3 separate regions of the Homo sapiens genome follow, and regions 2 and 3 are each linked to region 1. The links are contacts of gene promoters, found by promoter capture Hi-C in blood cells and fetal thymus (Javierre and others, 2016). All regions are on one chromosome and are shown on one strand. The core of a region is centred on a gene start or on the middle of the fragment in contact, and the rest is flanking DNA. Distances in the headings are between cores, read along the strand shown.

Evidence for each region. The method cuts DNA at HindIII sites, captures the fragments that hold promoters and counts their contacts. A CHiCAGO score of 5 or more calls a contact.
Region 2: a contact is called between a fragment that was not itself captured here and the fragment with the promoter of DPH3 in region 1, in 4 of 17 cell types (megakaryocytes, naive CD4 T cells, endothelial precursors and 1 more). The highest score is 6.8, in megakaryocytes.
Region 3: a fragment that was not itself captured here is called in contact with the fragment with the promoter of DPH3 in region 1 in 1 of 17 cell types (fetal thymus); the score reaches 5.5 in fetal thymus.

Annotation. Positions count from the first base shown.
Region 1 is chr3:16,263,591-16,267,607 of GRCh38, forward strand. It overlaps DPH3 (diphthamide biosynthesis 3), which reads right to left and starts at 1,353. Exons shown (of 3, transcript NM_206831.3): 1 at 1,179-1,353; 2 at 565-639. The coding sequence starts at 1,286. OXNAD1 (oxidoreductase NAD binding domain containing 1) reads left to right here and starts at 1,622. Exons shown (of 9, transcript NM_138381.5): 1 at 1,622-1,915. RefSeq lists an enhancer at 1,185-1,494. The HindIII fragment of the contact is 11,235 bases long and covers 1-1,519 here.
Region 2 is chr3:15,624,803-15,628,866 of GRCh38, forward strand. All of the region lies in intron 1 of BTD (biotinidase), which reads left to right. Among named protein-coding and RNA genes, the nearest start is that of BTD, 25 kb to the left of the region's middle. The HindIII fragment of the contact is 2,907 bases long and covers 513-3,419 here.
Region 3 is chr3:17,226,130-17,229,996 of GRCh38, forward strand. The region is part of intron 18 of TBC1D5 (TBC1 domain family member 5); the gene reads right to left. Among named protein-coding and RNA genes, the nearest start is that of PLCL2-AS1, 170 kb to the left of the region's middle. The HindIII fragment of the contact is 4,917 bases long and covers 133-3,867 here.

The sequences.
Region 1 (4,017 bases), core at 103-2,602:
CCTAAGATTCCATTCCAAGTACTGAACAAAACTTTGGGTAGGAGTGGGCAGTAATAACATTTTTTTTTTCTATTGTCAACATCCTTGGGTGAAAGATAATAGGGCAACTAAAGACTAAAATGAAATTGTAAAGCTGCACCTAGGAATTATATCTCAAACAAGATAATGCAGAATTCTGTGTATAAGCCAGCACGAAATACCATACAATTGTTCCCTTCAAAGTAAGTCTAGCAGCTCTAAACAATTTTAATTACATATTAAATAGAAGAGAAATATAAAAAATTGTCCACTAAAATAATCTATATACTTTCTATTTAATAAATAATAATTTTCACTAAAGCTAGATTTATCTCTAAAGCTAAAATAAATTACGTAATCTGAACTTTAAACGTTTTAATTTACTATTCGGCTGTTTATCAATGGTGTTTAAAACCTGCCTAAAAAAATACCGCACTTTACCTAGCACAATGAAACATTCTCCTGCACTCATCACTGACAAGCTGATCTAAGTCCTTGCCACTGACTTACAATACCCTTCCCCCGTTTTAAAATTATATCCCTTACTTTGTCATAAATCACTTTTATAATGAGAGAGCAGCTAGGACACGTTGCCACGTCTTCCCCATTCTCCAAATCTTCCTACAACGAAATCAAATACCATGTGGTCAGGATAGCTTCTCTTCGCCATCTCCTCCCCCAAACCTATCCCACCCCTAGATGCAAGTCTCTTGGTGGCTTGCCTTCCCCCCAAGGTGGGTGAGAACCCCAGGGCCTTCAGCGAGAAATGCCGACATCATTTTCCCCTAGAAGCGTCACTTAGGGGAAACACCTAGGAAGGTCAGGCGAGCTTCGGTCGCCCCAAAAGCCCTGGGAAACAAAAAACGAGTCCCCTCCTCGACAGAAATATCCCAGGTTGGGACCCTAAGGCAGGGATCGGGCAGAGAGACAGAGGCTCTCCGCCACCCTCTCCCTGACCTAATCTAAGGCCAGAACTGCGTGCCTACCGAGAGAGCTCAGGGCATTAGTTGGGGTGGGGGGACGCGGGAGGAGGAAGATTCAGCAACGGGAAAGAGGGCGTGGGTGACACAGCGCAGCAAAGGCTACCCAATGATGGAAGGAACGGGCGGAACCAAACTGCGCTTGCTTGGGTGAACCGCCGGGCGGGACCCTGAAGTTACCTTGGTGATGGAGAAGTTATCTCCACATGGGCAGGGATAGAAATACGTCTCCGAGTCCTCGTCATATTGGAAGTCCTCGATTTCCACCTCGTCATGAAACACTGCCATGGTCAGCGGGGGTGGCCGAAGGGGTAACGCCCCAGCAGTCCGAGGCCAGCTCCGAGGGTTTAACTTCGCCGGAACCGGCCTGGGCTCGGCATCATCAGGTCGCGCCGGGCAAGGACTAGCCCTTCCGGCGCATAGGCAATGACGCAACTCCGCCCTGCGCGGCCAAATGGATAACCGGTAGCGGTCACCATGGAGATGGCTGAACTAGGGGCGGAGACACTGGGAAGACTGAAAGCTTGCTCAGCGGGGTCGCGCACCGCTCCTCCTATTGGGCGGCAGCGACCAATAGAATGTGGGGCTCGCCCGCGCTGCTACGTCACGTCTGGGACCGCGGAGTATTCCAGGCGCCTGCAACTAAACGTGGCCGGGTCTGCAAGCTAGGTGCCAGCGGGGAAAGTTTCCCTGCTTCTTATCGTCTGCTTTAACGCCTTAAATAGCCCGCTGAAGGCTGCAGCAGGTGCTAGGTAGCAGCCTCCCGGCCCTCGGGAAAGGCGGGGTGGGGAGGCGAGAGCAGCTTAGCCTCCTCGACCTCCCTTCCTGGTGACGGACGAACAGTTCCCGTAGAATTTCGCTTCACCGAGTGACCTTGAGCCCAGGGCGACGGTCAGCTTGTTAATTCCTGGCTGCAGGTACATTCCGCTTCTTCCTCACCCCAGACGCCTTAAAATACCCTAAATTGTGTTGCTGAAAGGACCAAGCCCTGGAAGGCAGGGATTGAGTTCTAGTCTTCTGTTTGCCAGGCTTATAACATTATTAACGACGATGATTTTTAGTAATAGTAATAACATCACCTTTTATTATTGGGAAGTTATGTGCCAGCTATTGCACTAAGTGGAATTGTCAACTCTAGGAGTTTACATGTTATTCCATTTTATTAATCTTTAAACTGAGGTACAGAGAGTTGGGCATCTTGACTAAAATCATACACCTGGGAAATAATGAAGAGCTTGTCTGTCTCCAAAGCCCAGGAACAAATTACTTATGTGAGTACCAGTTTTTTCGTTGTGAAAGAAATGGTGTCAGTAGGCAGGTTTATCAGTGTGAGGCCTATGTATGCCTTGAAGCGAAATGCAGATAAAAGGCATTTTTGTCTTGAAAGCAGTGCTAGTGCCTGTTTTGGTAAAACCGATTACATTGGGTCTTACTTAATTACTAGGCATTTTAATATCTTAGTAGAGAAGAAATGCATTGTAGTGAAAAAGCACTTTCGAGAGAAGATCTGGGATCGGAATCTTGAGTTGTTGATTACCTCTGGCAACTGGATATTTACATTCTTTGGGCCTTATTTCCTCTTCTAAGAAAGGATTGGAGTAGAGATGATATAAGATCCTTTTTAGATGTAATGTTCCACTTTTGCACGGAAATTATGAGCTTTACTTGGTTCAGCAATGATATATAACATTTAGTTTACATTTACGTAACACATATACATAATATATCCCTGTGCACTTTTGAAGAAAACATTACAATGACTACTAAACTTTACATTTATTCCTAAAAGGGCGGATCACGAGGTCAGGAATACGAGACCAGCCTGACCAACATGATGAAGCCCCGTCTTTACTAAAAAATACACAAATTAGCCAGGTGTGGTGGTGTGCCTGTAATCCCAGCCACTCAGGAGGCTGAGGCAGGAGAATCTCTTGAACCTGGAAGGCAGAGATTGCAGTGAGCTGAGATCACGCCACTGCACTCCAGCCTGGGCGACAGAGCTAGACGCTGTCTCAAAAAAAAAAAAAAAAAAAAAAAAGAAGTAGGTCATAATTGTATAATGCAAACTATATTTGATGAGTGCTGTTGTATATCAGGCCAGAAGGAGTTGTTTATTGGCAATACCAAACCTCCACCTCTCTAGGTTGTTTGACAAGGAAGAGAAGGGGTCAATGTATTAGGATTGATTTTAGTAACACTGTTGCTTGCCAGGTACTTTGGTAGACATTTTATTTATTCCTCTCAGTAATCCAGTGAGGTGGCGTGGGTAATGTTAAAATGGCAAGAGGAGACTTGCTGAAGATTAGAAAGCAGGAAGGAGTCACACCTGAGCCCAGTTCCGCTGATTTCCGGTCAAATACTCTGTGTATACTACTTGTTTACCACTAAGGTGTCTTTGCCTGTTGGAGCAAGAGGAGCCCTTTTTCTTCCTCAGTGACACCTAAGATTCTAAATTGACAGATGTCATGATTGTTCTTTGAACTTACTTAATTTCAGTGCATTTATGCTTATTGAGGCATTCTTGGCTTTTCTCTGTCAGTGTCCTCTCACACCCTGCCTAATGTATCAGCAAGTTTTGGGGCTCTAATTCCAAAATATATGTCATGTTCATCTACTTCTGCCATCTCTGTAGCTGTTACCTTATTATAATCTTAGACCAGAGTCTTTTAACTGGGTTTCCTGCTTCCACTCCTGCCCCTCTCCCTCTGTTATCCTTCCCACAGCAACTTGAGCAGTCCTTTAAAAATATAAATTAGGTCTTGTCCTTCTCCTGATTGATTCAGACTTTTCAGTTGCTTCCCATTACCCTTAGGATAAAATTCTTACCCTTACTATAGACTGCTGGACTTCATCTCATTTCACTCTTACCAGCTTACTGCTCTCCAGTCACACTGGCCTTGGTTCCTTTAACATGCCGGGCTTATTTCTGTGTTGGACCTTTGCTCTTGCTAGTCCTTCTGCCAGAGTTGTCTGCCTTTAACATTTGCTTGGCCGCCTTTTCCTCATCATTCAGATCTCA
Region 2 (4,064 bases), core at 716-3,215, 640 kb before region 1:
GCTCACTGCAACCTCCGCCTCCTGGGTTCCAGCATTTCTCGTGCCTCAGCCTCCCAAGTAGCTGGGACTATAGGCGTGTGCCACCAAGCCTGGCCAATTTTTGTATTTTTAGTAAAGACAGGGTTTTGCCATGTTGGCCAGGCTGGTCTTGAACTCCTGGCCTTAAGCTCCTTAGCCTCCCTAAGTGCTGGGATTACAGCCATGAGCCACCGCACCTGGCCTAACTCTGGTTCTGATGCCTGCTCTGTTTTCAAACTCAATTTTTTACCTTTTAGTATACCTTGTAATTTTTTGTTGGAAGTTGGACTCGATGTACTAAGTAAAGGAACAGCAGTAAAAAGGCATTTAATTGAAATGTGGTGGGAGGGAATGTGTTCTATTGTCTTTAGGGATCTTTAGGGAGCCTGTGTTTATGGACTGTGAACTTTACAAGTGCTTCTCAGCCCCCAACCCCACTCAGGCGGGACAGAATGGGGCTAGAGTTGGGTATTTCCCTTCCCCCAGGTCAGTTAAGCTTTGATAAAACCCCAATAGGTAAAAATAGTTTCTCTGGAGGAGAGGCCTGCTAAAGACCAGAATGCTTTGTTTCCTTTCCCTCTTCCTCTGGCAGAAGCATGGGAGGATTTTTTTCTCCAGTCTTCATTGTGAGAACCTGGTAGAACTCCTAGAGGTAAAACCTACAAAAGTGCGGGTGCCTCCATCTAAGACTGGGTCCCTCTGGAGTTGTTTTTTGTTTGTTTGTTTGTTTTGTTTTGTTTTTTCTGTTTGTTTTGAGACGGAGTCTCACTCTCATGCCAGGCTGGAGTGCAGTGGTGCGATCTCGGCTCACTGCAATCTCCACCTCCCGGGTTCAAGCAATTCTCCTGTCTCGGCCTCCCAAGTAGCTGGGACTACAGGCACCCGCCCCCTCGCCCAGCTAATTTTTTGTATTTTTAGTAGAGATGGGGTTTCACCGTGTTAGCCAGGATGGTCTCGATCTCTTGACCTCGTGATCTGCCTGCCTCGGCCTCCCAAAGTGCTGGGATTACAGGCGTGAGCCACCACGCCTGGCCCAGTTTTAATTTTTTATTTTGCATATAAGTTCAAAGCCTTCCAAAGTGTTTGTTTATGATTTATTTTCTTGTTAAAATCTGTTCTTGTTCATTGCCTGTTTATAAGTGTTGTCTTGATGTTTATTTTTTGCATGTACATTTTAATTTGTCAATCTGTTTCTTCTTTTATTTCAACTGTTCCAAATTTTAGAAAGTTGTTTCAAGTATCTGATACCTAATTCTAATTTATGCTAGCTTTTCTAACATTTGATATTCAACTTCTGATTTTGAGTTTATTTTTGTGTATGGCCTAAGATGCTATTATTCCTGTTGTTATTCATCCATCCCAGTATCATATTCAATCAACCTCCCCCACCACCACCACTATTTTGAGTGTGGTTGCATTAAAAAGCATGTGGGCTTTTGGTCAGAATAGATTTGGGTGAAATCCTGGCTATGGGTAGCAGTCTCCTTCTACTTTAAGAGTAACTTCTTCACAAAAGGAGCTAGATGATCCTCTGCTTTGCCTCTAATGCTGAGGAATGTTGCACCTACAACTATCATGGAAGACGCTGAAACCTCCATTACCCAATCCTGTACTCCCAGCACCCTCAGGGAGCCCCACCTCTGGAGGACTCAGACACTCATGCCAGGTAAAGCTGTAGGACAGAGGCCAGGCATGGTGGCTCACAGCTGTAATCCCAGCACTTTAGGTGAGAGGATTGCTTCAGGCCTGGAGTCGAGACTAGCCTGAGTCACATAGCAAGACCCCATCTCTACAAAAAATTAAAAAATTAGTCACACATGGTAGCATGCACCTGTAGTCCCAGCTACTTGAGAGGCTGTTGGGGAGGGATCACTTGAGCCTAGGAGTTTGAGGCTGCTGTGAGCTATGTATGATCATGCCACTGTACTCCAGCCTGGGCAACAGAGCAAGACCCTGTCTCAAAAAAAAAAAAAAAGAAAAGAAAAGAAAAAGAAGCTATAGGACATAGGGGAGCTAGTCATATGTCTGTCCTACTGAGACTCTAGATGGCACAAGGCAATGGCACTTGTGTTAGAACCAGAATGCAGCTATGGCTGACTTGGAACCGTCTGTCAGAGGAAAAAAGGCATGCAAATAGTTACTCATTTGACCAAAGCAGAAGAAAACCAAAATGTCCAATGCCTCCAGGAAGAAAGGCAAAGATAGAGATACTAATCATTTCTCTACACATCTGCCATGCCATGGGTGAAGAAGACAGCCAAGTTGGTGAACAGATCTGGAAAGGTTACCATCATTCTTGATTGAGCTCTGCCCTCCAACCGAACACCCCTGAGCAGCCACGGCATGCCGGCTCACCGTGCTTCCCACCACGCATGGATCAAGAGCACCTCCACAGGTTCTCAGAAGCTACGGCACCAGGACCCATTTGCCTGCTTTTTGCTGTTCCTCTTAAGACAGGGTCCTGCAATCACAGCTCACCGCAACCCCTGCCTCCCAGGCTCAAGTGATGCTCCCATCTCATCCTTCCGAGTAGCTAGGACTACAAGTGCATGCCACCATGCCCAGCTAATTAAAAAAATTTTTTTTTGGTAGAGACAGTGTTTCTCCATGTTGCCCAGGCTAGTTTCAACCTCCTGGGCTCAAGCAATCCTCCTGCCTCACCCTCCCAAAGTGTTGGGATTACAGGCATTAGTTACTGTGCCTGGCCTCTCTTGGTAATTTTGACTATGCCACTCCTAAATATATGCCTCTTGGCCTCTGCATGAGAGAAGGTGGCCTTTGATGTGTTATTTCCAGCACTGTGGTTTACTTTAGCTTTTTAAATTGTTTCTTTCATAATTTCTACTATCATCCAGCGTCAGTGTTTCTAGCCTATCCTATTAAGGGTTATTCTTTTGTTTTGTTTTGTTTTGTTTTTTGAGATGGAGTTTCGCTCTTATTGCCCAGGCTGGAGTGCAATGGCACGATCTCGGCTCACTGCAATCTCTGCCTCCGAGGTTCAAGCTATTCTCTTGCTTCAGCCTCCCAAGTAGCTGGGATTACAGTGCCTGCCACCACGCCTGGCTAATTTTTTGTGCTTTTAGTAGAGTTGGGGTTTCACCATGTTGGCTAGGCTGGTCTTGAACTCCTGACCTCAGGTGATCTACCCACCTTGGCCTCCCAAAGTGCTGGGATTACAGGCATGAGCCACCATGCCCAGCCCCAAGGGTTATTCTTTTGATTTGGGGAACAGGGTTCCTTGGCCCTATTACCCACCACATTGTTCTCCACTCTTTGCATCCTGAGCATCTCCATCTGCATTTTTCACTCCTGAGTACTGGCAGAGATGAGCACAAGGGTAATGGGACTTGATGTAGTGACATTGTATCCACCACATGCTTAGAGAGGTTACATCCACCACAAGCTTAGAGATTCTGTATCCACCACAGGCTTAGAGAGGTTGTATCCATCATACAGTTATGTTGCATCCACCATACATCTAGAGATGTTGTGTGCACTATACAATCAGCAATATTGTGTCCATCATACATTTAATAATCACAAAGCCATTACATGGCCCACATTTCTGAGCACATCTTCCCTGAAAATTTTGACACGTAGTTCTAGGACATCACATTTTCCATGCACTGGTTCTTTTTCTTCTGGATGTCAAGCCCTCAGGTCCACATTATCTAGAAGGTGTTCTTTAAGGTAGTCCAAGAAGGAAATGGGTAAGAAATTTCCCAAAGGCTTTTAAAAGCAATACCTTGCTGACACTCATTGAAACTCATTTCAGAGAATTTGACGATGGTTTTTGGAAGCCATAAGCATTCCAGAAGAACAGAGTAGCTAGAAGTGCCCCCACCATTCATGTGTCCCAGGACTGACTGACAGTGGAAAAGCTTTATGTGTGTGTATTTTCCTTGCTGCCTGGTCAAGGTCTCCAATCAATAGTTTAAGACTTTTTCACAGTTCATTTTCGACCACCGAAGATTTCCTTTAACTTTCCTGCAAACTCAAATATGCATTTAAAAATAATCTGTTTCATTTTTGCAGGATATGGTTGA
Region 3 (3,867 bases), core at 1,341-3,840, 960 kb after region 1:
TTCTCTGCCTTTTTCGTATCTGGTATGCACAGAATCTGATCACATTTGTATAGCACACTGGGGTAAATGGATGTGGGCTCATCCAGGCTTCCCCTGGACAGCTCCTGAGCTGAGGGGTCAGTATTCTCAGCAAGCTTGTAACCCATAAGCTACATACTGGTTCCAAAGTTCTCTACATACCTTTTTTTTTTTTTTTTGACAGAGAGGAACAGCATGAAACATTTTTGTTGCACGAAAATTTAAAGCCTATTCTTAGGGGCACATTCTAAAATACGCTGCTGTAGGGCCCTGCCCAATTCCCTCTTCAGGTCCAAGGCACTTATTTCCCCCAGCTGCTGGAAATGCTGGCTGTTGATGGCTCCCCTGAGTTCTTCTCTGGAAACTGCCCGCAACTGAAGAGAGCTTCCTTGCCCAAGGTCATGCCCCTTACCTGGGAATTAACTCCAATCCAGTGACTGGTTTGAGTTGACAAGTAAAAGCTGGCCCCCTTGCCTCAAGGTGGACAACTCTAGAGGACTACCCCAGCCCCAGAGGGTTCCAGCAGCAACTGCAAAGCGGTCGGTTTAGCTCTCTCCCTGCCAGTGTTGCTTCTTTCACTCCCCAGGTACTGATCTCAAGGATGCTGCCCAATAAATGTCTTAACCATGAATCTGTCTCACAGTTTGGTCTTCAGAATTTCTGACCCATGACATTTATTTAAAATTATTTTAGATTGTAAGACATTCTTAAATACATTAAATATAGGCTCATTCTTAAGCCATCTAGGGTGTACATGTATTAATGCATGTATGTAGTCTTTCATTCGTGACCAAACATCAGGGAATGAGCCCTATGCAGAGTGATCTTTTGAAATGCCTAAAGAAATTTCTGTTTAGCACTGGGGAGGGAAGTATGAACATAACAGAAGCTCTTAAGAAACTCCCAAAATAGCCATACAGGGAATACAGACTTGTATACACACTAACCTACAACCCTAGGTAGCAAAAGCGAACACTGAAGTACAAACAACAGCACTTTGTGTGCGCAAAAGGGGGAGTGTCCAATCTTGTCTCAGACAATTAAGAGTGTGAGCTAGATCTTAAAACTCAAGAGGAAATGGTCGTGGTGGGTCAGGGAGGGTCCTCTCTAGTGGAGAACACAGTATTTTCAAAGGCATTGTACTAGGAACATCTAGCTTAATCAGGGCCTGATTAAAACCTTTGGTGCTCCCTGCCATCAATATGTAATTGAAAATGATATCAATATCAAAGTAAAAGGAAAGATTAAGTTCAACAGAGTGCTTTCTAAAAAATTTGATGATTATTTCAATGTTTTTTTGGGGGAGGATCAATTATCAAATTTTTTCTAAAGTTGAAGGTGCCCCATTATACACCATGGAATTCTATACAACCATACAAAAGAACATCATGTTCTTTGTAGGAACATAGATGGAGCTGGGGGCCATTATCTTTAGCAAACTAACACAGGAACAGAAAACTAAATACCACATGTTCTCACTTATAAGTGAGAGCTAATGATGAGAACACGTGGACACAAAGAGGAGAACAACAGACACTGGGGCTTACTTGAATGTGGAGGGTGGGAGGAGGGAGAGAATAAAAAAAAACTATTAGGTACTAGGCTTAGTACCTGGGTGATGAAATAATCTGTTTAGCAAACCCCCATGCCACACGTTTACCTATATAACAAGCCTGCACATGTACCACTGAACCTAAAATAAAAGTTTTTTTTTTTTTTTTTAAGAAAAAAACTAAGTTGCTGGTACCCTAAACATGAGCTTAGTTTCCCTCTTGATCATCCAGTCTTGGGGAGTGGAGGATAGTGGGAAGATGAGGCCAGATCAAGGGTCTGACAGATCAAGAAGAGCTCCTTATTCTCATGTTAAGGGGTCTGGCCTTTATTTCATTGGTGGTTGATGGCAGTTACTACAGATTTTAGGCCAGAAAATTGAGTGAGGATTATAAGGGCTTGGTTGAGTGGACCATCTGTTGCGTTGGTCCAGGCAAGAGATTATGGCCTTCAACTGAGGCTGTGGTGGTAGATTTGAGAGATGTTTACAGGGTAGAATTCCCCAAGCCACTATCTGGTGGGTCAGACACAGCTAGGATTGAGTCTGAACTGGGTTGATACCTAGTTGTACGGCCTTGAACAAGTCACTGACCCTCCACTGGCCATAGTTCTCATCTACAAGTGGCTGTGTGTCCTAAATGATAATGTAAAGGGTTTAGTGTGGTGTCTAGCATATGCTCTCCGTAGACATAAACCATGTCTAGTGGAAGGCATAGAGATGGCTCCCAAATCTAGAGCACATAGTTTAAAATGCAGTACTCTGGATTGTGGATTCACAGGTTCTCTCTTGATAGGATCATTGAAACCCCTCCTGGTAGGACACTGGCTGCACTTCTCAATGATTTCCCACAGACTTCAACTAACTGGCACTAAGTATAGAACCATCATATATGCATCACATAAGACTGCCTGGCAGAGCAACTGAAATCCAGGCCATGGTCTGCTTATTAAGTCATGTGCCCTGGTGTGAGCTACATCTGCAGAGAAGTTATCTTTTTTTTTTTTTTTGTAAGTTGCACAAAGTTACTGTTCGGATGAGACACAGCTGTGTCTAGCTATCTTATGTCCTTCCTTCATTCTCTTTCCCTCTCTGAAACACTCAATAAAAGTACTGTGCCCTGTGTGCTCTATGTCATTGGAGGCAACTTGTCAAGAGCCTAAAATGACTGAATGAGCTTCATAGGCATCAGTGGAGATTCCTGACTGCAAAATGGCTGAGAGAGAAGGAAAGAGGAAGGAAAAATGCTTATTAAGCTCCTACCATGTCCCATGAATAATATTTTCATGGATTTTCTATTACCAAATTCGATAGGAAATAAGAAAAGGGGGTGGGCATTTTACTAAATAGACAGGCAGAACCCCAGTACACCTGAGGTCATCTGAGGAAGGTGGACACTGGACACCCAAAGGCAAAATGTTCAGGAGGTCTACGGGGGGACTTGCTGGGAACGTATAACCTAGATAAGCAGAAAGGGAAAAACCTGGGAACCCCTGTTCTGTGGCCACAGAAAGGGGATAACCTTGACTTTATATAGTGACCAAGACAATGAGGCATCTGGTCCCTATATAGTAACAGTTTGTTTCCTGCAGACTTGAGTGACAGATAGCAAAAAGGCTAATGTCTACTAATGAAAGACATGCATCTTGCTGTCACAAGAGTGAACAGACACAGGTTGTACTTGAAGCCCCTGGAATAGACATTCTCTAGCTTGACCACAAAAGTCAAACGCTGTTGGATTGGGTACCTGCATGCAAACATGTGTCTTTAGAATATCAGAAATAATAATTAAGAAAAGATAGATGTGTGGAATGAGCTCCTTCATTATTTGATTCTGAGATTCAGAGAGGTATTTGAGGAAAGCACATAATGGTGCTATCATCACCACTACCTGAGCAGGTAGCACCCTAGAGCCCTCACTATGCAACAGGTGCTGTGATGATGTCCAGCAACAACCCTTGAAGTAGCTGCTCTTATTCTCTCTTTACAAATAAGAGGTTAAGTAACTTCCCCAGGTCATCCAGCAAGGCAGTGATGGAGCCTGAATTCAAACCCAGGCTTGACTCCAGAGCCCGTGCTAGACAAAACTGTACCACCCTCCCCATCTCATAAGGGTTGTGCCAAGTGGGCTGATGTAAATGTGACCTAAAATTAGATTAAAGCAAAATGGAATGAGGCCTTTTGAACGTAAAGGGCAAATTCTGATCTTGTTTTCAGTCCAAAAACAACTCATTTATTCAATGTCTTTTGGAATAGATGTTCCACAAAAATGCATTTTCTAGCTAACTGATGTTTCCCAA